Linked DNA regions of Homo sapiens: all the other regions are linked to region 1. The links are contacts of gene promoters, found by promoter capture Hi-C in blood cells and fetal thymus (Javierre and others, 2016). All regions are on one chromosome and are shown on one strand. Each heading gives the region's core, a stretch centred on a gene start or on the middle of the fragment in contact. The rest is flanking DNA. Distances are from core to core; before and after follow the strand shown. Region 1 holds the start of GOLM2 (golgi membrane protein 2). Region 2 overlaps WDR76 (WD repeat domain 76). Region 3 has its middle 6.2 kb from the start of TRIM69. Region 4 overlaps FRMD5 (FERM domain containing 5). Region 5 overlaps FRMD5 (FERM domain containing 5). Region 6 overlaps FRMD5 (FERM domain containing 5). Region 7 overlaps FRMD5 (FERM domain containing 5).

Region 1 (2,842 bases), core at 129-2,628:
TTGAGGATAGGAAGCACAGAATAATTAAGATGACAAGTCTTCCTGCCTCAAAATCATATCACTCTGATTCGAATAAAAAATACCAAGGTTTTTCCTTCTTGAGGTTTTATACTCATGGAAGTTCTTCAACCTGAGGTCTGAAAAATAAGGCAACCCCATCCTCTCCTTAAACAGGTTAGAGCCAGTACCTTTTTATTTCTCTATGCACGGACAAAATAATTATGCAAAAAAAAAAAAGAGGCAGGTTTTGTTTTTTTTTTTGCACTACTGAAATTCACACTTAACATATAAACAATCTGCTATATGCAGACAGCACTGGTGTTTAGAGTTCAATGATCTGGATTCAAGCCTATTTAAAACCAGATAAGAGAAAGTTCCCAAACATCTATGTGTCTTGGATTCTTCATCTGTAAAATTGCGTTGTTGAGAAGATAATATGAGACTAGGCGCGCAAAACAATTTGTTAGAGCTATTATTTCTAACCCGGAATGTGTTCGCTGGCAGTAACAGTGCATTAGTTACGATTCATCGAGGGCAGCTTCTGGACTTTCTGTTTGGAAGCCCAGCTGAGGCAAAAGCAGCAGTGCGTTTAAAAATTGGAGCTCGCCACATTCTGAAATTCTTTCGGTTCGTGAAAGCAGTAACCTAGGAAACGAGACTGGCACCACCCCTTTCAGTCCTAAAGCTTGGTTTCTCCCGCTTTTCTCCATTATGTTTAGGGCATCGCTATTTTACAGTCTTTTTGTTTTTTCTTTCCACATCATTAGCACAAAAGAGAAATTCCCCTTCTACAGAAGCAAGTACAAAACCTTTCTAGTCGCTCCTTTTTGGCAGCAGCTCACCTACTATTTTTTTCTATTCCGCGGTCGCAGCCCCAGACGTCCTCAAAGACAAATATTTTCGCGAGGGCCAGTGTAGGGCAGGAACTCCCTAGGCCTTGAATCAAGGGAATCCAGTAGATAACAACAGAAAGGACTCCGACCCAGGTACCTGAGACATCTGAGACCGCCAAAATTAACACAACACCCTACGCGACAGAGAAAACTCTGGGCGGGGAGAGAGAAAGAGAGCGAGCGAGCGAGAGAGAGAGAGAGCGAGAGAGAGAGAGAGAGAGAGAGAGAGAGAGAGAGAGAGAGAGAGAAAGAGAGCGAGCGAGAGAGAGCGAGAGAGCGAGAGAGCGAGAGAGCGAGAGAGCGAGAGAGAGAGAGAGAGAGAGAGAGAGAGAGAGAGAGAGAGAGAGAGAGAGAGAGAGACGAGAGGAAGCAACGTTCTCGCGACAAGAGGGGTGTCGACGGAAACTCGGAAATGGTCCCCTAGACGACCCGGCCCCAGCTAGTGGGTGGGGCCAGGGTACATCCGCCCCTTTCCGGTTTTTTTCCCCGCCTCCCAACCGTGAGGTGTTGGGTTTGGGGGACGCTGGCAGCTGGGTTCTCCCGGTTCCCTTGGGCAGGTGCAGGGTCGGGTTCAAAGCCTCCGGAACGCGTTTTGGCCTGATTTGAGGAGGGGGGCGGGGAGGGACCTGCGGCTTGCGGCCCCGCCCCCTTCTCCGGCTCGCAGCCGACCGGTAAGCCCGCCTCCTCCCTCGGCCGGCCCTGGGGCCGTGTCCGCCGGGCAACTCCAGCCGAGGCCTGGGCTTCTGCCTGCAGGTGTCTGCGGCGAGGCCCCTAGGGTACAGCCCGATTTGGCCCCATGGTGGGTTTCGGGGCCAACCGGCGGGCTGGCCGCCTGCCCTCTCTCGTGCTGGTGGTGCTGCTGGTGGTGATCGTCGTCCTCGCCTTCAACTACTGGAGCATCTCCTCCCGCCACGTCCTGCTTCAGGAGGAGGTGGCCGAGCTGCAGGGCCAGGTCCAGCGCACCGAAGTGGCCCGCGGGCGGCTGGAAAAGCGCAATTCGGACCTCTTGCTGTTGGTGGACACGCACAAGAAACAGATCGACCAGAAGGAGGCCGACTACGGCCGCCTCAGCAGCCGGCTGCAGGCCAGAGAGGGCCTCGGGAAGAGATGCGAGGATGACAAGGTAAGGACGACCCTTTTCTCTTCAAACCCCATGGTTTCTTTTCTCCCCGGGGTCTGGGGCGGGATGTTAATCCGCTAGCTGTTGTCTTATGCCTTCCAGTATTTCAGTCCTGAAGGCTCCTTTCACCCCCAACAACCCTGTTTCTGTCAGACTTTTCCCAGTTTATCAGTGCCACGTTCTCTGGTCCCTGCCAGAAAAAAATGACTGTAAATTCTGGTTCTCAAGAGTGGACTGTGTGCAGATGCTGCCTATTCTCTAAGCTCAGCTGGTGAGTTGGCAGTAGTAATCATCTGGCCTGTGTGGCCCCCTTACCTTCAAAGACACACAAATCTGGCGACTGCCAGGTTTGGTGTGGTTATTGTCTCATTTTTATTCCGTGCACACTGATCAATATTAATTTCGTTATTTAAAGAACGAAGCCGCCTCTGACTCCTCTACTTATGGTAGTCATCATATATTTTTTAAGCTGTGTGACTTTTAAAATCTCTATAGGGTGATGTATTGAATAACTAAATAATCAGCTATGACTGCCTTTTTGTGATCAAAATGTTATGATAGATGGGCCCTCGAGCTATATGTGAGACACACTTGTGTCTTGGACATAGTTGATCCATCATTATCTACTCAATTTGAATTGTTAATGAAATCAGCCAAAAGATTAGAATCTGAAAATAAATTTTAAGCAGTGGAATGTCATGTCAGTGTCTTCATTGAAAGAAAATAGAATGAAATTTTGTATAGCTAAGTTGCTATTAGGGTTGGTGTTTTATGCAGATGGAAAACTATACAAAGTTTTAAATATAAAAAGTTTAAAATTGAACTGTAA
Region 2 (2,842 bases), core at 221-2,720, 440 kb before region 1:
GATGTTTGAGTTATAAAGACTATACGCCATTTTAGGGAATTTTGAAAGTGAGATGAAATGTTTCCACCCTAACAACTGTTGTTTTTGTGTATTTCCTCACAAGTGTTGCCATATACAATACCACTAGGATATAAGCTTCATATACAATACCACTAGGATATAAGCAAGAATTCTATTTCAATAACCAGAACAGTGCCTGGCACATAATATATGTTCAGTGTTGAATAAATGAGTGAATCCACATACATTTTTACTATATGTTGTAATGTATATACAATTTTGCATTACACTTTTTTCTTTTTCTTTTTTTTTTTTTTTTTTTTTGTTTTTTGAGACAAGGTCTCCCTCTATCGCTTAGGCTGCAGTGCAGTGGCACTATCTTGGCTCATTGCAACCTTCGCTTCCTGGGCTCAAATGATCCTCCCACCTCAGCCTCCCAAGTAGCTTGGACTACAGGCGTGCACCATCACATCTCACTAATTTTTGTATTTGTAGAGATGAGATTTTGCTGTGTTGCCCAGGTTGGTCTTGAATACCTGGGCTCAAGTGAGCTGTCTGCCTTGGACTCCCAAAGTGCTGGGATTACAGGTGTGAGCCAGTGTGCCTGGCCTGCGTTATGTTTTTTTTCATTTGCGGTTGCATGTTACTAGAGTCTTTAAAATTATTGAATAATTATAAAATATTCCATTGAGTAGAAGGAGTTCACTTCTCCTCCTACCTGCTTGGTATTTGCGGTTGTTTTCCATTTAGCTTTGTGTGTTTGTGTATGTGTTTGTTGAAGTATATGGATATGATAGTGGATTATTTCTTTAGGTTAGATTTCCAGAAGTGAGATTAATGCATCAAATATTGTGAACATTTTTATGGCTTTTAGTACACATTGCCGAATTGTTGCTCAAAGGTCTTTTTTTTTCTTCTGAACATTTTATATGAACTTACTCTTCCACTAGCAATATGTGTGAGTATGTGTATTTAACTGCAGCCTACCAGCTTTTGGTGTTATTAAAATTATCAAGGGTAATTTAAAAAGTGAAAGAATATTGCTTAATTTGATTTCCTTGGTTACCAGGAGATTGAATAGTTCCCATATTTATTTGCTAATTGTGATTTTTCTTTTTGAATAATCTTTTACTTATTTTGACTATTGAGATTGGTTTTACTTACAAAATTTAACTTTGTAATTTTCTTAGCTACAAAGCCAATTTAAATGGCATGGTCATTAGTGAAGATACCGTTTACAAAGTTACCACAGGCCCAATATTCTCTATGGCTCTCCATCCATCAGAAACTAGAACTTTGGTAGCAGTTGGGGCCAAATTTGGGCAAGTTGGACTTTGTGATTTGGTAAGTTATTAAATTTCTTGAATATATTATAGTTTGACTAAAGCAAATAGGCTGGAAGAGAATAGGCTAGAGCCATGTGTTTATAAATGTTGCGTGAGACTTACAATTTTGGGCTTTATGATGCTTTATGATTCCAAATTTTAGAAATCTGGAAGAATTTAAATTTGCTTTATAGAACTTTAATATTTTTAGCTTGAATATCATTAACCATCTGGTCATAAATTAACTGCCAGAAAACTTTGTTACACTTTGTGTGATCTTTTCACATATACATTTAAAGTGGCCGGGTGCGGTGGGTCACGCCTGTAATGCCAGCACTTTGAGAGGCTGAGGCGGTCGGATCACCTGAGGTCAGGAGTTCGAGACCAGCCTGGCCAACATGGTGAAACCCCGTCTGTAGTAAAAAAATACAAAAATTAGCTGGGCGTGGTGGTAGGTGCCTGTAATCCCAGCTACTCAGGAGGCTGAGGCAGGAGAATTGCTTGAACCCAGGAGACGGAGGTTGGAGTGAGTCGACACTGTGCCATCCAGCCTGGGTGATAGAGTAAGACTCCGTCTCAAAAAAAAAAAAAGGGCTGGGAGCGGTGGCTCACGCCTGTAATCCCAGCACTTTGGGAGGCCGAGGCGGGTGGATCACGAAGTCAGGAGATCGAGACCGTCCTGGCTAACACAGTGAAACCGCGTCTCTACTAAAAAACCCCATCGCTACTAAAAATGGAACAAATTAGCTAGGCGTGGTGGCAGGTGCCTGTAGTCCCAGCTACTCGGGAGGCTGAAGCAGGAGAATGGCGTGAACCTGGGAGGGGGAGCTTGCAGTGAGCCGAGATCGCACCACTGCACTCCAGCCTGGGCGACAGAGCGAGACTCTGTGTAAAAAAAAAAAAAAAAAAAAAAAAAAAGATCAAAGTTTAGTTTTCTTTTTTTGGAGAGGGAGTCTTGCTCTGTCGCCCAGGCTGGAGTGCAGTGGTGTGATCTCGGCTCACTGCAAGCTCCGCCTCTCAGGTTCACGCCATTCTCTTGCCTCAACCTCCCGAGTAGCTGGGACTACAGGCGCCTGCCACCATGCCTGGCTAATTTTTTCTATTTTTAGTAGAGGTGGGGTTTCCCCATGGTCTTGATCTCCTGACCTCGTGATCTGCCTGCCTTGGCCTCCCAAAGTGCTGGGATTACAGGCATGAGCCACGGCGCCCAGCCCGAAGTTTAGTTTTCTAGTTGTGTTTAAAATATGGTCTGCTATGGTCTGAATGTTTTTGTCTTCCCCAAAATTCATATGTTGAAATACTAATCCCTATGGTATTAGGAGGTAGGACCTTTGGGAGGTGATTAGGTCATGAATAAGATTAGTGCCCTTATAAAAGAAACCCAGGAGAGACCACTGTCCCTTCTACCATATGAGGACACAGCTAGAAGGCACCAACTATGAACCAGAAAGTAGGCCCTTACCAGACACTGAATGAACTGGAAGCTTGATCTTGGTCTTCCTAGTCACCAGGACTGT
Region 3 (2,842 bases), core at 105-2,604, 440 kb after region 1:
AAACTGTAAAAGCGAATTAAAAGGGTGACAAGCTAGTGTTTTAGCCTATCCAGTTCCGGGAGTTTGCACGCAGACGCTCTGCTTCGTGACCTTGGCTCTGCTCTGTGGGCGCCGCCCCCAGCCTGGGCGCGTCCATCGTCGAGTACCTTCTCCTCTGCCTCCCCCTCCCTCTGCTTCTATCTCTCTCCAATTGCCCTCCCTGGCCTGCGGCCGCCCGGTCCTCCTTCCCAGCCCAGTGCAGCCAGGCACCCGGGTTCGGCTTGCTCAGGTCTCTGTCCGGGACTGGGAAGCCACGGAGGGCCGGGAAAGTGGCACACTCCTGGAGCTCAAGCTTCCTACTCTCTCATCGCTGAATAACTACCGGGCAGGACTGGGTGGAACAGACAGCATATTTAGGTCATTGATGGGCTGCTGGGTGGATGGAGCTGGAAAGTGATGGGCACTGCTTTCTGGGGCTGCCCAGGTTCCTTCCGAGGGCTCGCTTTTCCTGGGCAGAGCGGGAAAGAGGAGGGGCAGGCCGGTCGCGAAACGCAAATAGTCGAGAATAGCGATCCGGGGAGAAGCAGGTGTCTGTGGGGCCCAAGAGAAGTACCATCTCGGTAAGTAGGCCGGTGCATGCAGGGGAGCGCAGAGCCCTAAGCCCTTCTCTGGGGTCCGCCCGTTTTCCTGCTGGGCTTCTCATTTCCTCACTAGGTTCTACGGTTTGCCGATCTAAATCCAGTTCGTGTCCTATTGTATTGTGTAACATTTTTGGCAGCTTACATCTTTGTTTATTGAGATATAGTTCACAAACCATACAATTAACATATTTAAGTGTACATTTCAGTGGGTTTTAGTATATTCACAGGGTTGTGTAACCACCTCAATTTTAGGACATTTTCGTCACTCCCAAAAGAAATTTTGTACCAGTTCGGTGTCACTCCCATTTCTCCCAAACCCCTAGTCCTAGGAAACCACCAATCTTTCTGTCTCTATGGGTTTGCCTATTAGTATTTCATAGAAACAGAAACATATAATATGTGGTCTTTTGTAACTGGCTTCTGTTTTCAAAGGTCGTCATATTGTAGCAAGGATCAGTTCTTCATTCCTATTTATTGATGAATATTACTCTACTGTATAGATATACTAAGTTTTGTTTATCCATCTATAGTTAATGGGCATTTGGATTGTTTCCACTCTTCGGCTACTGAGAATAAAATGTGGTTATCAATATTCATGTATAAATTTTTGGTGTGGACATAGATTTTCAATTCTCTTGAGTATATATGCAGGAGTGGAATTGCTGGGTGATATGGTAACTCTATGTTTAATCTTTTAAGGAACTACTAGGCTGTTCTCCAAAGCTGAATGTACCATTGTGTATGAGAGTTCCAATTTTTCTACATCCTCACCAATACTTTTAATCTTTTTTTATTATAACCATTCTAGTGGATACGAAATGGTATCTCTTTATGGTTTTGATTTGTATTTCCCTAATGACTATGCATTATTTTAAAATTATAAGCTAATTAATTTTTACAAAGATTTACATGCTGTGATTTTGACAACTTAACTTCTAGGTCACATGCTCAAAAGTCACAGAGCCTAGACCCAAACCAAGCCTTTCTATGGCTAATGCTCGAACTCCATCCTCTCTTTCCTAGAAGGCAATCTGGGATAAATTTTTCAGAACTCCATTTGTTGCCTCTGTTAGAAAGAAAACACTGGGCAAGATGAACCTGCAAGTAGAGTAAATGGTTTATTTCTTATTTGCTTTTAGGAGTATGTAAGGAGATTTTTTGGTCTCCCGTTTTTACTTTATAAAAAATGAGTGAGTGGGCCAAGCGCTGTGGCTCATGCCTGTGATCCCAGCACTTTGGGAGACCGAGGCAGGCAGATCACCTGAGGTCAGGAGTTTGATATCAGCCTGACCAACATGGCAAAACCCCATCTCTGCTAAAAATACAAAAATTAGCCGGGTGTAGTGCCATGCACCTGTAATTCCAGCTATATGGGAGGCTGAGGCATGAACATTGCTTGAACCCCGGGGAGACGGAGGTTGCAGTGAGCCAAGATTGCACCACTGCACTCCAGCCTGGGTGACAGAGTGAGGCTCTTTCTCAAAAAAAAAAAAAAGGAAAGAGAAAGCTCTTAATTGAAGTAGTAACCCTTTCTTGGGTGTTCAATGATATTGTGCTTCTCTTCATGTAAGTGCCCCTTAGATTCCTCCTCCTCACTACCATCAGGTCATAGAATAGGGAGGGGCACTCAGTTTCAACAGCAGTGGCCTCCAAATTTTGTTCAAATGCATAACTATAAAAAGTTTTTTGTATACATTCTCTATATATAGCTATACATTTTATACATACACTACTATCAGTCTTGATTTAGACATTACTAAAGCTTAATTTTTCTCTCATTTTTTTTCAGTTAAAAATTCAGATTGAACTATCTTACAAATGGCTCCCAGAAGATCCACTCCCTGTGGGAACACAGCAGTTGTGGAAGTGAAGACAGGACTGGACCCAGAATAAGGGTTCAAATATGTGGGGAAATCTGACCTCTAAATTCTTATAAGTCAGAGAGTGACTGAACAACAGCAGTGAGACATCGAAGAGTTTTAATATCTGCTGTAAACCTTGGCACAGATCATTTACTTCTCTAAGACTGAATCCAAAAAGCACAATGGAATACTATAATAAGCTGAGACAGCATGGTGAATTCCAGACAAGCCTGAGCATTCCCTATAGCCAGAGAAGGAGGCCCAACACCTAACATAGCCTTGGATGCAGAACTGATAGAACTTGGGGAAAGTGATGAAGTAGTTGACCTCACCTGTGAATCTCTAGCACCTGTAGTGATT
Region 4 (2,842 bases), core at 238-2,737, 410 kb before region 1:
TGGCTTTATCTTCACTATATTGTGTGGCCACTTCATTGAATCTCATCCCAGACTTTAACTTTTCCATGGCTTCCATGATTTTGCCATGTTTTTCCCATAGAATGTGTCTGACCTTTACTGCATTGCCACCACCTTTGGGACCTTGAGCCTTCTTGTCAGCACTGTCACTCCCAGAGGCTGCACCCCCTTTCCCCGCTTTTCCAGAACCACTTTTTCCTTTGGGCGGCATCTTGGAAGCTTGTTGTTGAACTCTGAACTCTGGGCCTGGTTTTTACCCCAGTTTGAAAGAATCTGAATTCCAAACTACCCCTGATGCAGAGCTGGGACCACGGTTTGAGTCTCAAGTCTGCCTGTTGGGTGGAGGGCTTTAAGAGGCAGGAATGGGCCAGACACGATGGCTCCCATCTGTAATCCCAGCACTTTGGGAGGCCAAGGCAGGTGGATCACTTGAGCCAAAGGGTTCAAGACCAGGCTGGGCAACATAGACACTGTAACTATAAAATTTTTAATAAAAGAGAGGTAGGAATGGGGAGAAGGGGAATATGTCATGCCTAACTGGGTTTCATCAAATACCGAATATCCTTGTAAAAACCCAGCATACAGCATCTTGAGCTTATAAGGTCAATATTTTTGGATTTCTGCAGCTGCTCTCAGTCTCTTCAGCCTCCGTTCTAGCTGTTCTGACTTTGTGGAATGATGGGGTAGAAACTCTCTCTGCTCTTCTTGAGGGGGCATGGGAGTAGTCCCTGGCCAGCTCCCTCTCTTTTCCTCTGAGAAGGAGCTGGGTCTAGAATAGGCTGAAAAGCTCCCCTATCTTTAGACACTTCAGAGCACAAAACAGTTTGAGAAGATCTTGTTGCGGGGGTGGATTTCTCTTACATTTGGTAGGAGGAAGGGGTATTCTATCCCCTAAAACTACCCATTATCTCTTCTCTCTTCCCAAGGTTCTCACAGGACTCAAGCCCTGGCAGGGAAAACAGGAGCTGGTTACACTCTCAACTGAACAGCAGCCACCCAGGCCAGAGGCTTTGGGCATATAGTGAGTGAGCGCGGCCCCCATCACAGTGCTCCCAAGGAAATGGCTTCTTGTTTTAGGCTCAATGTCTGCATTTTCCACTCCTGGCCATCTTGGTGATGCTGGTGTGGTTCTCTCTGCCTTTGTGACCTATGACAAGAAAAGCCAGTCCCCTTCTGTTGCCCTGAAATAGTCCCTGACAATCCCAGACTGAACCAGATTCCCAGCTCAGTAAAGGTTTTACCTAAGTCAGGTTGATTAGGGAGTTTTTTGGTTCAGGGCTAGCTCCAGAAGCCCAAAGGGTCTCTTTTTTCCCCTTCTTCCAGGACATGAAGCAGTCCAAAGGTCTCTCTTAAAAAGGTGTTAGTAACCTTTCAGAAGCAGTGTGTCCCATCTTCCTTGGCTCCCTCATGGCTTGGCCGTTTGCACCCAGGCAGCCTGCCTGACCAGCCTTGTGGAGCCTGTCTTGGCACAGGCACAGTTAAGGATTCTCCAGAGGAATGAGCCCTGGAATCTGGGTTATGAATGAGTAGGACAATGGGGAGAGAGGGTGGGGGCAAAGGCAGGGCACCTGCCATCTAGTTACGCTCCCCATTGCGTCACGGCTCATATATTTGCCACAGCTCTCAATCTCTGCTTTCAGAAGCTCCTCATAGTCTTAGCTGTATTTTTTGTCCCTGTGCTAAAATCTTAAATTTGTATAATGCTTTCATCTTTTTAAAGCACTTTGATTTTATCTTTCAGTAACTCCACAAGGTAGTGAGGGCAAGAGGTTATCTGAAGTCATGTGGTTGGCAGTTAATGGCAAAACCAAGGATAGAATCCAAGCCGCTTTCTAGTTCATGATCCTGCTGATCATATCTATTAAGTCCTCATGTTGTCAACAGGTTCCTGGAAACCATGACTTTAAGCCAAATGATGTTACAGCAGGTCCTCCAATGTTTTCTTCAGCATCATTTTGTTATAATTTTTTTAAAGTTCTTTAGTTTTTTGAGACAGTCTTACTCCATTGCCTAGACTGGAGTGCAGTGGTACAATCACGGCTCACTGCAGCCTCGACCTCCCAGGCTCAGGTGATCCTCCCACCTCAGCCTCCTGAGTAGCTGGGACTACAGGCATGTGCCACCACGCCTAGCTAATTTTCGTATTTTTTGTAGAGACAGGTTTTTGTGCTGGGATTACAGATGTGAGCCACCACGCCCAGCCCCATTTTGTTATAATGTTGATGAGAAAAAAAAAAGTTTAATTGTACATCATTTTGCTTAAAGTTGCAGTTTCTAAAGACCCTGTCAACGCTGTTAAGTGATGACTTAACTGTAGTCGGATTCCATGGAATGGAACCATGGGCCAGGACGGATTAAATCAACAGCCAGCATCTACCTTAGATTTAGGTCTTAATTGCTCGAGAAACTGTTTTGAAATAACCTGAAATTAAGAGTCTCTGTCCCTTGTTCTAGAGCTCTTGCTGTTCCTCTGATCTCTCTTCCACAGTATTCCTCCCTGATGTCCCCATTTGCACATGCAGCTTGAGGAATATGTACCTTGGGACAGGTTATGGGTCACTGATAAAGCAGAAACCTTAAGGCCCTGGTTGCAGCATATTGCTTGCTTGGCTCCTTTCCCAGGCAGTCCTCAGCCCCATTGCATAGGGCGCCTGCCACCCTTTCAAAGGCCTGCCCCTTCATGAAGACAGCTCTGACTGCAGGATCTTTCAAAGTATGAAAAGCTTAGCTTAACCTACGATTACACCCCTCAGCTTGTGGGGAAGGAGAGGCAGATGCTGTGACATCAGAAGAGGAAAATGTCAGAGGACCACCTGGAGCCACA
Region 5 (2,842 bases), core at 124-2,623, 390 kb before region 1:
TCATATGTTGACATTGTAACCCTCAGTACCTCAGAATGTGACCTTCTTTGAAGACAGGATCTTTACAGAGGTAATTAAGTTAAACTGAGGTCATTAGGATGGGCCCTAATCCAATATGACTGGTGTCTTTGGAGAAATCTGGACAGAGACATGTACAGAGGGAAGAAAGCGTGAAGACACAGGCAGATGACAGCCATCCACAGGCCAAGGAGAGGGGCCTGGAAAGGATCCTTCTCTCAAAGCCCACAGGAAGAACCAACCCTGCTGACACCTTATCTCAGATCTCCAGCCTCCAGAACTGTGAGACAATAGACTTCTGTTCTTTAAGCCACCCAGTCTGTGATACTTGTTACAGAAACCCTAGGAACTAATATACTATTCTTTTAATTTTTGCTTGAAGCTTAGTATCCCCTCTCCAGTTAGGAAGAAAAGGTTGATGTCTTCCTGTTCCTGGCTGATACTGCTTCCTTCAGATCAGCTTGCCAGTTGGTTTTACTGGTGATACTGGACCCTCTCCAGTAATGGAAAGAGAGAGGCAGAAATGTGGAGAAACTGAGGTAGAGACCAGGAGTGTCAAAGCAACAGGGACAGGAGGTAACGTGAAGGGCCACAGCCACAGAGAGAGACTGGAAGGGGCCATGGGTCTGCACAGGCCTCGGCAGTGACTGGCTGCCCCCGCTCATCTCCAAAATGCCAGATGTGCATGAGTAATTACAGAGGTTTTCTCTGGGCAGCCTCCCCGGCTGGTTCTCGTCTATCCCTCACAGGCGCATAATGGCATTAAATGTGACTCCACTGCAGTTCCGTGCAGTGACTTATGCCACTGCAGTCAATAAAACCCACTCTCGGAAAGAAACTAGATTACAGGTCAGGAAAGGGTGGGCAGGCACTGAGCCGCCTCTGATCGTTCTCTGTGGGGGGCCTTCCATATCCCTCCTCTCTTCATTTCTACCAAATTACCCATTGCGGGGCCCTAGCTTTGGATTTGTTATTTAGATTGACTTTGCCTCGGTTCCTCTGACATTGATGTGGCACCACAAAATTATGTAGCATGTGATCCAGAGGAGTTTTCAAAGCAGGCATTTTCTCTGATATCTCACTGAAAGTGCCAGCCATGTAAACGTTGAAGGGGGCCTCTGAGCGCAGGCATGGGGGCTCTTGCTCCTGATGCCTTCTAGAGGAGGAAAGGTCATGCAGTCTCCAACCAGGGGGTCTTACCTTACATGGGTGAGGATCCACTCCATATGTTTCCAATGTCTGTGCTTTTCTTAAGAAGTTCAGCTCTGATGTTGCTGGTGTTTGACCACTGGAATAAAGAAGATGAGATGATTTCAAGGTGTCTTGTTCCCACAGGTTCCCCTGAGGTAAACTCTCTATGAAGATGTGCTTAGGATGAGCCACACATCTCAGTTTGTCTAGGGTGTGCTCCCTGCTTGGTTCTAGGACCAACTTCGAGACTCCTGCTAGAGTCTCTGACTGTCTTCAAACGTTTTCAGAGTGAGGCAGGCTACATAATGAATTACTTGGGCTGAGTGTAAACAATGGGGAGTGGTGGGGACTGTGGCAGCACCATCTTAACTCTGAGATTCCCATCACTGAGAATGCAGGGCCCACTACTTGGGAGGCTGAGGTGGGAGGTGGGAGGATTGCTTGAGCCCAGGAGTGCGAGGTTTCAGTGAGCTATGGTCACAGCCCTACACTCCACCCTGAGTGACAGAATGAGACCCTGTCTCAAAAAAAAAAAAAAAAGAATGCAAGGCTTAGCTAGATATTGTGATTTTAAAAGAAAAGTCAGAGATACTGATTTTTATGTGGTATTTCACAATTTAAAATACTATGGGGTAAAACAAAATACATCTGTAGGCTGGAAGCAGGTCATAGGCTTCTCATATGTGATCTGTTCTAGACTGAAATATAAAGAAGGGGCTCATATAGCTTGCTGGTGCCACCCAGCCCTCTTCCTTTGCCAAAAGGAAACACAGGAAATTAGGGTGAGGAGAGGCAGGAGACAGTGCTGAGCTCCCATGCTCCACAACAGCTGTCTGTCCATAGGGTGATGACCAGGAAAATGAAAGATGCTGAAAAAGGCAGAGATCAGCTCCGGCTCCAGGCCATCTGAAGGGGCCTTTGGCATCACCCCTTCCCACTGCCTCTTTAGCAGGTGTGTTGATGGGCTCATTGCAGACCCAGTGGCAGAATAACCATCAGGCTCTTGCCTGGGTCCAGAGCCCTGCAAAGCAGATATACTTCTACAGATACAGGTTTGGCTTCAGTGAGGAGGGGTGGGCAGCTTGTGAAGTCAACATCTCTGATGGCTGGTGGACAGGACTGCACGTTGCTCGTTTCTAAGCTTATCATTTGCCTCAGGTGATATGGCCAGGCAGGAAGATAAGCTGACCCCAGGCCAGATTCCCCCTAGTGTCCCTCTGGAGAGGCATTAGTCAGGCAGCACCTTTATGTGCCAGCCTCTGTGCTACTTGCTGGAAAATATATGAAGAAACACAGTATACAGTCTGTGCTCTCAAAAGCCCATATCACAGTTGCATAAAGGAAGCATGGATGTATTTTTACATTATGAAGACGAGGCAGGACCTATGGAAAAAGTACCTGTGGAAGGGGGTATTGCTGTGAATAAAGACTTCTGCATCCACTAGTGTACCTGAGGCACAGGGAAGGTAAGTTAGGAAAATATCTGTGTGGCAAGCAAAGGGCTGGCTAGAGCACAGCTTCCCTTTCCAGGGAGTGTCCTCTGTCTGCAGGGGGAGTGGGCCCTGTGGGCTCCATTTACCCTTGGAGTTGGCCCAAACCTCCAGGGTCCTCAAAGCGGGCATCATTTCCTGGG
Region 6 (2,842 bases), core at 210-2,709, 360 kb before region 1:
CTGGTCTCTAACTTCTGACCTTAGGTGATCTGCCTGCCTCGGCCTCCCAAAGTGCTAGGATTAAAGGTGTGAGCCACCATGCCCAGCCCTCTTGTATATCCTTTATGTGATGTTTTATACACAGGCAAACCTACATACATATACATCTCCTCTTTTAAAAATACATTTTGTAACATATTTTTAAGCTCTTTTCTCCCACTTAGGGTATCCTGCAAATCCTTCTATGGCAATATATATAGATATGCCTCACAGTTTTTAACTGCTGCATGTCACTGCAATGAATCTAAAATTATTTACCCAGTTCCATATTGATGACATTTGTTTCTAATTTGCTATTACAAACAATGTGGCAGTGAACATACAATGATCTTTATGTTACTCACTTCTCTTAATTCTTGTTGCTCTCAGAATAAAATGAAAACTCTGATCATGGCGTCCCAGGCCCTATACAGCCTGGCTTCTCTCTGCACTCACCCAAAATCATTTTCCTCACTACACTTCAGCCATGGCCTTTCCGTTCTGAACTCCCCAAGGCTTTTCTGCCACTGTCTTTGCATTCCCTCTGCCGGGAATGTTCTTCCTGCAGCTCTCTGCAGCCACTCCTATTTTTTGAGGACTCAGCTCAAATGTCCCCTCTTCAGAGAGGCCTTTCCCTATAGTACAGCCCTTCCCAGTTACTTTCCATCTCATTTTGCCATTTATGTCCTTCATAGCACTTATACCAATCTGTAATTATCTTGTTGATTTGTTTAGTTATCTATTTACTATCTGCTTCCTTTCTAGACTGTAATTTTCATGAGGTCAGAATCCTTCCCCCAGAACTTAGCACAGGGCCTGATGCATGGCAGGCAGGTCCTCAATAATTATTTGTTGAATAAATTACTGAATGAATAGAAGGGAAAAGGTTTGCTAAAAGATTTCACAAAATGGTGAAAAGCTAGGCCGTTTATAACCCATAACCTTCTACTTCAGAGACCTGCCTGGATGCCAAGGGTGAAGTGGGAGGAGAATGACTTGCAGGAACCTGTCAAAACATCTGGAGCCTGCACAGCATCCATCGCTGGCCTGTCCCCAGTGGTCTCTGCAGCTCAGTTCAGATGATCATCTCTGGCGGGTCTATGTCTAATTTTGCATACAAATTGAGGTTGTATGAGGAATTTCTGTAGTGTAGTGGTTATCACGTTTGTCTCAGAAATTGAGGTTGTAAGATAAGATCCAAAGATCTCTCCTGTGCCAAGGCCCAAGGCCATGGGTAATTACAGAAGGGCCTGGCCCTGCCCCAAGAATGAGCATATTTTAAAGACCTTCACAAAAGGTTTACACCTCACCTCTTCCCCTTCTGCTAACTCACCACATACTATCCAAGGAGAACTAGGGCAGGATGCTGATCTCGCGGCAGTTATGTTAAGAAGTTTGTCCTTGCAGGAGCTGGAAGAATAGGTGAGTAGACAGCTCAACTACAGAAGGAGGCAACATGTGGGCAACACCCCTCCTCTTCTGAGACAGGAATAATACAGGGTGGTCACAGGAGAATAAAAATTCCAGACAGCAGTTTCACATGACTAGAGGCTATGGGCTGATAAGACCCTGAAAAACAGGGCATAGACCAAGCTAGCTAAGACCCACTGAACCCAATGTGTGGCTGGATTTGACCTAGGTTTCTCCTAGGACCTCACTATAAACTCGTTAACATACTAGATCACACACCTACCAGCGCCAGGACTGTTCCAAGACCACCCATATTTGCTGTAAAAATAGGTGCCACTGCAGTTATGAGAAATCTCTACCTTTTCCCAAGAATTTTCTTGAATATTCCACCCCTTGGTTAAAGAAACCCATAAAGACAGAAACCCCAAACCCCACTGAATGACTCTCTCAAGTATGCCTACGCTCCCTTTTCTTGAATGTGTACTTTGCCCTTTGCAATAAATCTCAATAAATCTCTGTTCTTTTACTATTTTCTGACTCTTCCTTGAATTTCTTGAAAGAATTCTTATCTTCTCAATGGTGTCAAGAGCCTGGACACCAGGTGGGGTGGAGGTCTCACTGGCGTTTGGGGACCTCCCCCAGCCCACTGGTATCACTTCTGCTAGCCTCATACTCCCTCTCACAACATAAGCCTGAACTCGCAGGCCCTATTCCTCCTGTCTTTGGTCCCCTACAGGAAAGAGTGACTCTCAGGACAGAGACTCGTTATGAATCACACTGGGACTTCTGGGTGGTGGGCCACAAACCAGGTCTTTCAAAGGACTCCGTCAGAACTTTCTTTGTGCAGGGCCTATTAACTACTTCTTCACTGATGCCAAGAGAGTGAGAAGAGCTTAAAGAGGTATTTCAGGTTCTCTGGGAGCAGAGGAAACATGTTCCACTCTATCCCATGCAGCATATCCTATACTATTATCTCTCTCAGAGCAACTGAAATGGAACAGTGAGAGACAGTAGCATATTTTCATTGCTTTTCTCTACAAATTTTACTTTGCACCAAGCTGGCTTTTACATTGTGATCAGCTGGTGCTTTTTTTTTTTTAATGAAAAAATGTTTTTCACAAACACTACTACAGTATGATGTGAGTTTTACGGGCTGAAGAAGTTTGCTTCCATACATACAACAACCAGATTAGCAATGGGACAGAGATAGCTATAGGGAAAACATGCTTCTGTGATGGAAATCATACAGACTTTTAATAAGAATCCTGCCTTTCATAAAACAACTCATTCTCATGGGCTGCGAGTTCAGATGCACTTGTAAGGCTCTTAGCTGGTAAGAACCCTGAACTTGGTAGATCCAACTTCAGATTTCTTCCACTTCACAGGAAGAAAAAGGAAGCATGGCTTTTCTCTT
Region 7 (2,842 bases), core at 191-2,690, 340 kb before region 1:
CTACCAAAAATACAAAATTAGCTGGGTGTGGTGGCGCACACCTGTAATCCCAGCTACTCGGGAGGCTGAGGAAGACAGAATTGCTTGAACCCAGGAAGTGGAGGTTGCAGTTAGCCGAGATTGTGCCATTGCACTCCAGCCTGGGCAACAACAGTGAAACTGTATCTCAAAAAAAAAGAAAAGAAAAAAGAGACAGGGTTTTGCCATGTTGCCCAGACTGGTCTCAAACTCCTAGACTCAAGTGATCCTCCTGCCTTGGTCTCCTAAAGTGTTGGGATTACAGGCGAGAGCCATTGCTCCTGGCCGTAAGAGAGTACTTTAATATTAAGGATTAAGTAGGCCCAGAACTGTAAGACCTTGGATATTTCATGATACTTTTAACTCACCTCTGTACTGGGTAGAATAGTGTCCCCCAAAATTCATGTTCACACAGAACCTTAGAATGTGACCTTATTTGGAAATAAAGTCTTTGCAGATGTAATTAGTTAAGATGAGGCCATACTGGATTAGGGTAGACCTAAATCCAGTTATTGGTTCCTTATAAGAAGACCATGAAGAGACATAGACACACACAGAGGGAAGACAGAGGCAGAGGTCAGAATGATGTAGTAACAAGCAAGGAATGGCAAGGATTGCCAGCAACCACTAGCAGCTGGGAAGAAGCAAGGAAGAATTCTTCCCTAGAGTCTCCAGAGGGAGAATGTCTCTGCTGACACCTTGATTTCAAACTTCTAGTTTCCAGAACTATGACAGAATAAATTTGTTGTTTCAAGCCAGTTTGTGATTGCTATGGCAGCCCTAGAAAATGAATACAACCTCTCCTTCAGGGCAAAAGTTCCACACTGTCCATGAAGTCTTTCCTTACCAAATCTGGCCATTGTGACCCCTCTTTCTACTTAGAGCAAAGCAGACTTTGTTATTTTGCACTTGGGGCTCTCCATGATTGGTCATTTACTTATCTTTTCAGTACCATATCCCATCGGCCACTGCCTTAGTCCTTTTCTGTTGCTTATAACAGAATATCTGAAACTGGGTAATTTATAAAGAAAGGAAATTTATTTCTTACAATTATGGAGGCTGAGAAGTCCAAGGTTAAGGCACTGCATCTGGCAAGAGCCTTCTTGCTGGTGGGAACTCTATAGAGTCCTGAAGTGCCACAGGGCATCACATGATCATGGGGCAGAGTGGGCTAATGTGCTCGGCTCAGATCTGTCTTCCTCTTCTAAGAAAGCCACCAGTTCCATTCCCATGATAACCCATTAATCCATTAACCCTTTAATCTATTAACGCATTAAGCCATTCAGGAGGGCAGAGCCCTTACAAATCCCATCACCACTTAAAAGGACCCACTTCTTTTGTTTTTGAGACGGAGTTTTCACTCTTGTTGCCCAGGCTGGAGTGCAGTGGCGCAATCTCTGCTCACTGCAACCTCCACCTCCCGAACTCCCGGGTTCAAGTGATTCTCTTGCCTCAGCTTCCTGAGTAGCTGAGATTACAGGTGTGAGCCGCCACGACCAGCTAATTTTTTTTTTCGAGATGGAGTCTCACTGTGTTGCCCAGGCTGGAGTGCAGTAGCATGATCTTGGCTCACTGCAACTTTCACCTCCTGGGTTCAAGCGATTCTCCTGCCTCAGCCTCCCAAGTAGCTGGGACTACAGGCACCCGCTACCGGCTGGGTTCCTTGGAGTCTGTCCCACGCATACATAGTTAAAGGGTCAGTCAGATATTTGGGCAGGATTTATGCACAGAATTTGGGGCTTCCCATTTGCCTCTCTCCTTTCTGGAATTTTCCTCCTCATTTTCCAGCTGCTGTGGCTATCCCAAGCTGTGGCCTCTGTGGGTTTGATAGAAACTGTGGGTTTCTATAAGTTTATTTATTTATTTTTTTTTTTTTTGATAGAGGGGGGGTTTCACCATGCTGCCCAGGCTGGTCTCCTCCTGAGTTCACGTGATCTGCCCACCTTAGCCTTCCAAAGTGCTGGGATTACAGGCATGTGCCATAGCGCCCGGCAGGTTTCTATGAGTTTATATGACACCAGATAGGACATCTCCTTAATCTAAAAGCCATTAAAAAATGGGAAACTTACCCACTGCCATTTCCTTCTTCCAAGGGTAGACCCTACACTACCCTGCCTACTTTTTATTATGCTCCAGTGGCATTAGGTGGTTGCTTTTTATATTTTATTCAACATTTACACTTATCTGTGGGAGAGTTGGTTCAATAGGAAGTGCTTGGTCATTATAGGAAGTAAAGACTCCCTTCATTAAAAATGTCATTTTTTTTAAATAAAAAATTTTCCTGAACCCAAAGAACTAGAAAGAATACTAAACAAAAGCCAAAGTCACGGTCAGTTGTAGGCAGAGGAGAACTGATTTAAATTACTACTGAGGACATTTCAATCTTTTTTAAAATATGAAATTACTTTTACTTGTTACAGTGGAATATCATTATGAATGAAGTAGGTCCTGGGTACCTGAGCCTGTTATATGATTGCCAAGCCCTCATCCTATGCCAACATAGGACACTCATACAAAAACACCACATGGAACTTCTTGGACACACAACTGCATGCATCCCACTGTAAATGTACTGAAGTGTAATATAACCTTTGTGAAGATTTCTTAGGCATATGGACGGGAGGGCACATTGCACCATAGAAAGCAAAACTCTGCCCCCTGCCCCCCAGATCTTTTAAAAATGTCTTCCCCAGGTGGTGGCTCACCTGTAATCCCAGCACTTTGGGAGGCCAAGGCAGGTGGATCACGAGGTCAGGAGTTCAAGACCAGCCTGGCCAAGACGGTGAAACCCTGTCTCTACTAAAAATACAAGAATTAGCTGGGC

What was found. Contacts are between HindIII fragments. The CHiCAGO score rates a contact against its expected background, and 5 or more counts as called.
Region 2: a contact is called between a fragment that was not itself captured here and the fragment with the promoter of GOLM2 in region 1, in 1 of 17 cell types (endothelial precursors). The highest score is 6.0, in endothelial precursors.
Region 3: a fragment that was not itself captured here is called in contact with the fragment with the promoter of GOLM2 in region 1 in 1 of 17 cell types (fetal thymus); the score reaches 9.9 in fetal thymus.
Region 4: a fragment that was not itself captured here is called in contact with the fragment with the promoter of GOLM2 in region 1 in 1 of 17 cell types (endothelial precursors); the score reaches 5.6 in endothelial precursors.
Region 5: a contact is called between a fragment that was not itself captured here and the fragment with the promoter of GOLM2 in region 1, in 1 of 17 cell types (endothelial precursors). The highest score is 10.5, in endothelial precursors.
Region 6: a fragment that was not itself captured here is called in contact with the fragment with the promoter of GOLM2 in region 1 in 1 of 17 cell types (endothelial precursors); the score reaches 5.3 in endothelial precursors.
Region 7: a fragment that was not itself captured here is called in contact with the fragment with the promoter of GOLM2 in region 1 in 1 of 17 cell types (endothelial precursors); the score reaches 5.6 in endothelial precursors.

Annotation. Positions count from the first base shown.
Region 1 is chr15:44,287,341-44,290,182 of GRCh38, forward strand. It overlaps GOLM2 (golgi membrane protein 2), which reads left to right and starts at 1,379. Exons shown (of 10, transcript NM_138423.4): 1 at 1,379-2,016. The coding sequence starts at 1,690. RefSeq lists enhancers at 438-1,344, 726-795, 1,191-1,485 and a silencer at 1,296-1,655. The HindIII fragment of the contact is 5,453 bases long and covers 684-2,842 here.
Region 2 is chr15:43,842,711-43,845,552 of GRCh38, forward strand. It overlaps WDR76 (WD repeat domain 76), which reads left to right. Exons shown (of 13, transcript NM_024908.4): 8 at 1,191-1,344. Among named protein-coding and RNA genes, the nearest start is that of WDR76, 17 kb to the left of the region's middle. The HindIII fragment of the contact is 2,674 bases long and covers 134-2,807 here.
Region 3 is chr15:44,728,954-44,731,795 of GRCh38, forward strand. It overlaps the pseudogene RNF4BP. Among named protein-coding and RNA genes, the nearest start is that of TRIM69, 6.2 kb to the right of the region's middle. RefSeq lists an enhancer at 1-929. The HindIII fragment of the contact is 2,051 bases long and covers 330-2,380 here.
Region 4 is chr15:43,876,016-43,878,857 of GRCh38, forward strand. The region is part of intron 13 of FRMD5 (FERM domain containing 5); the gene reads right to left. It also overlaps the pseudogene PIN4P1. Among named protein-coding and RNA genes, the nearest start is that of WDR76, 50 kb to the left of the region's middle. The HindIII fragment of the contact is 2,504 bases long and covers 236-2,739 here.
Region 5 is chr15:43,900,957-43,903,798 of GRCh38, forward strand. It overlaps FRMD5 (FERM domain containing 5), which reads right to left. Exons shown (of 14, transcript NM_032892.5): 7 at 1,219-1,306. Among named protein-coding and RNA genes, the nearest start is that of WDR76, 75 kb to the left of the region's middle. The HindIII fragment of the contact is 1,950 bases long and covers 399-2,348 here.
Region 6 is chr15:43,925,217-43,928,058 of GRCh38, forward strand. The region is part of intron 1 of FRMD5 (FERM domain containing 5); the gene reads right to left. Among named protein-coding and RNA genes, the nearest start is that of WDR76, 100 kb to the left of the region's middle. RefSeq lists an enhancer at 2,699-2,842. The HindIII fragment of the contact is 5,118 bases long and covers 1-2,842 here.
Region 7 is chr15:43,943,075-43,945,916 of GRCh38, forward strand. The region is part of intron 1 of FRMD5 (FERM domain containing 5); the gene reads right to left. Among named protein-coding and RNA genes, the nearest start is that of WDR76, 120 kb to the left of the region's middle. The HindIII fragment of the contact is 4,978 bases long and covers 1-2,842 here.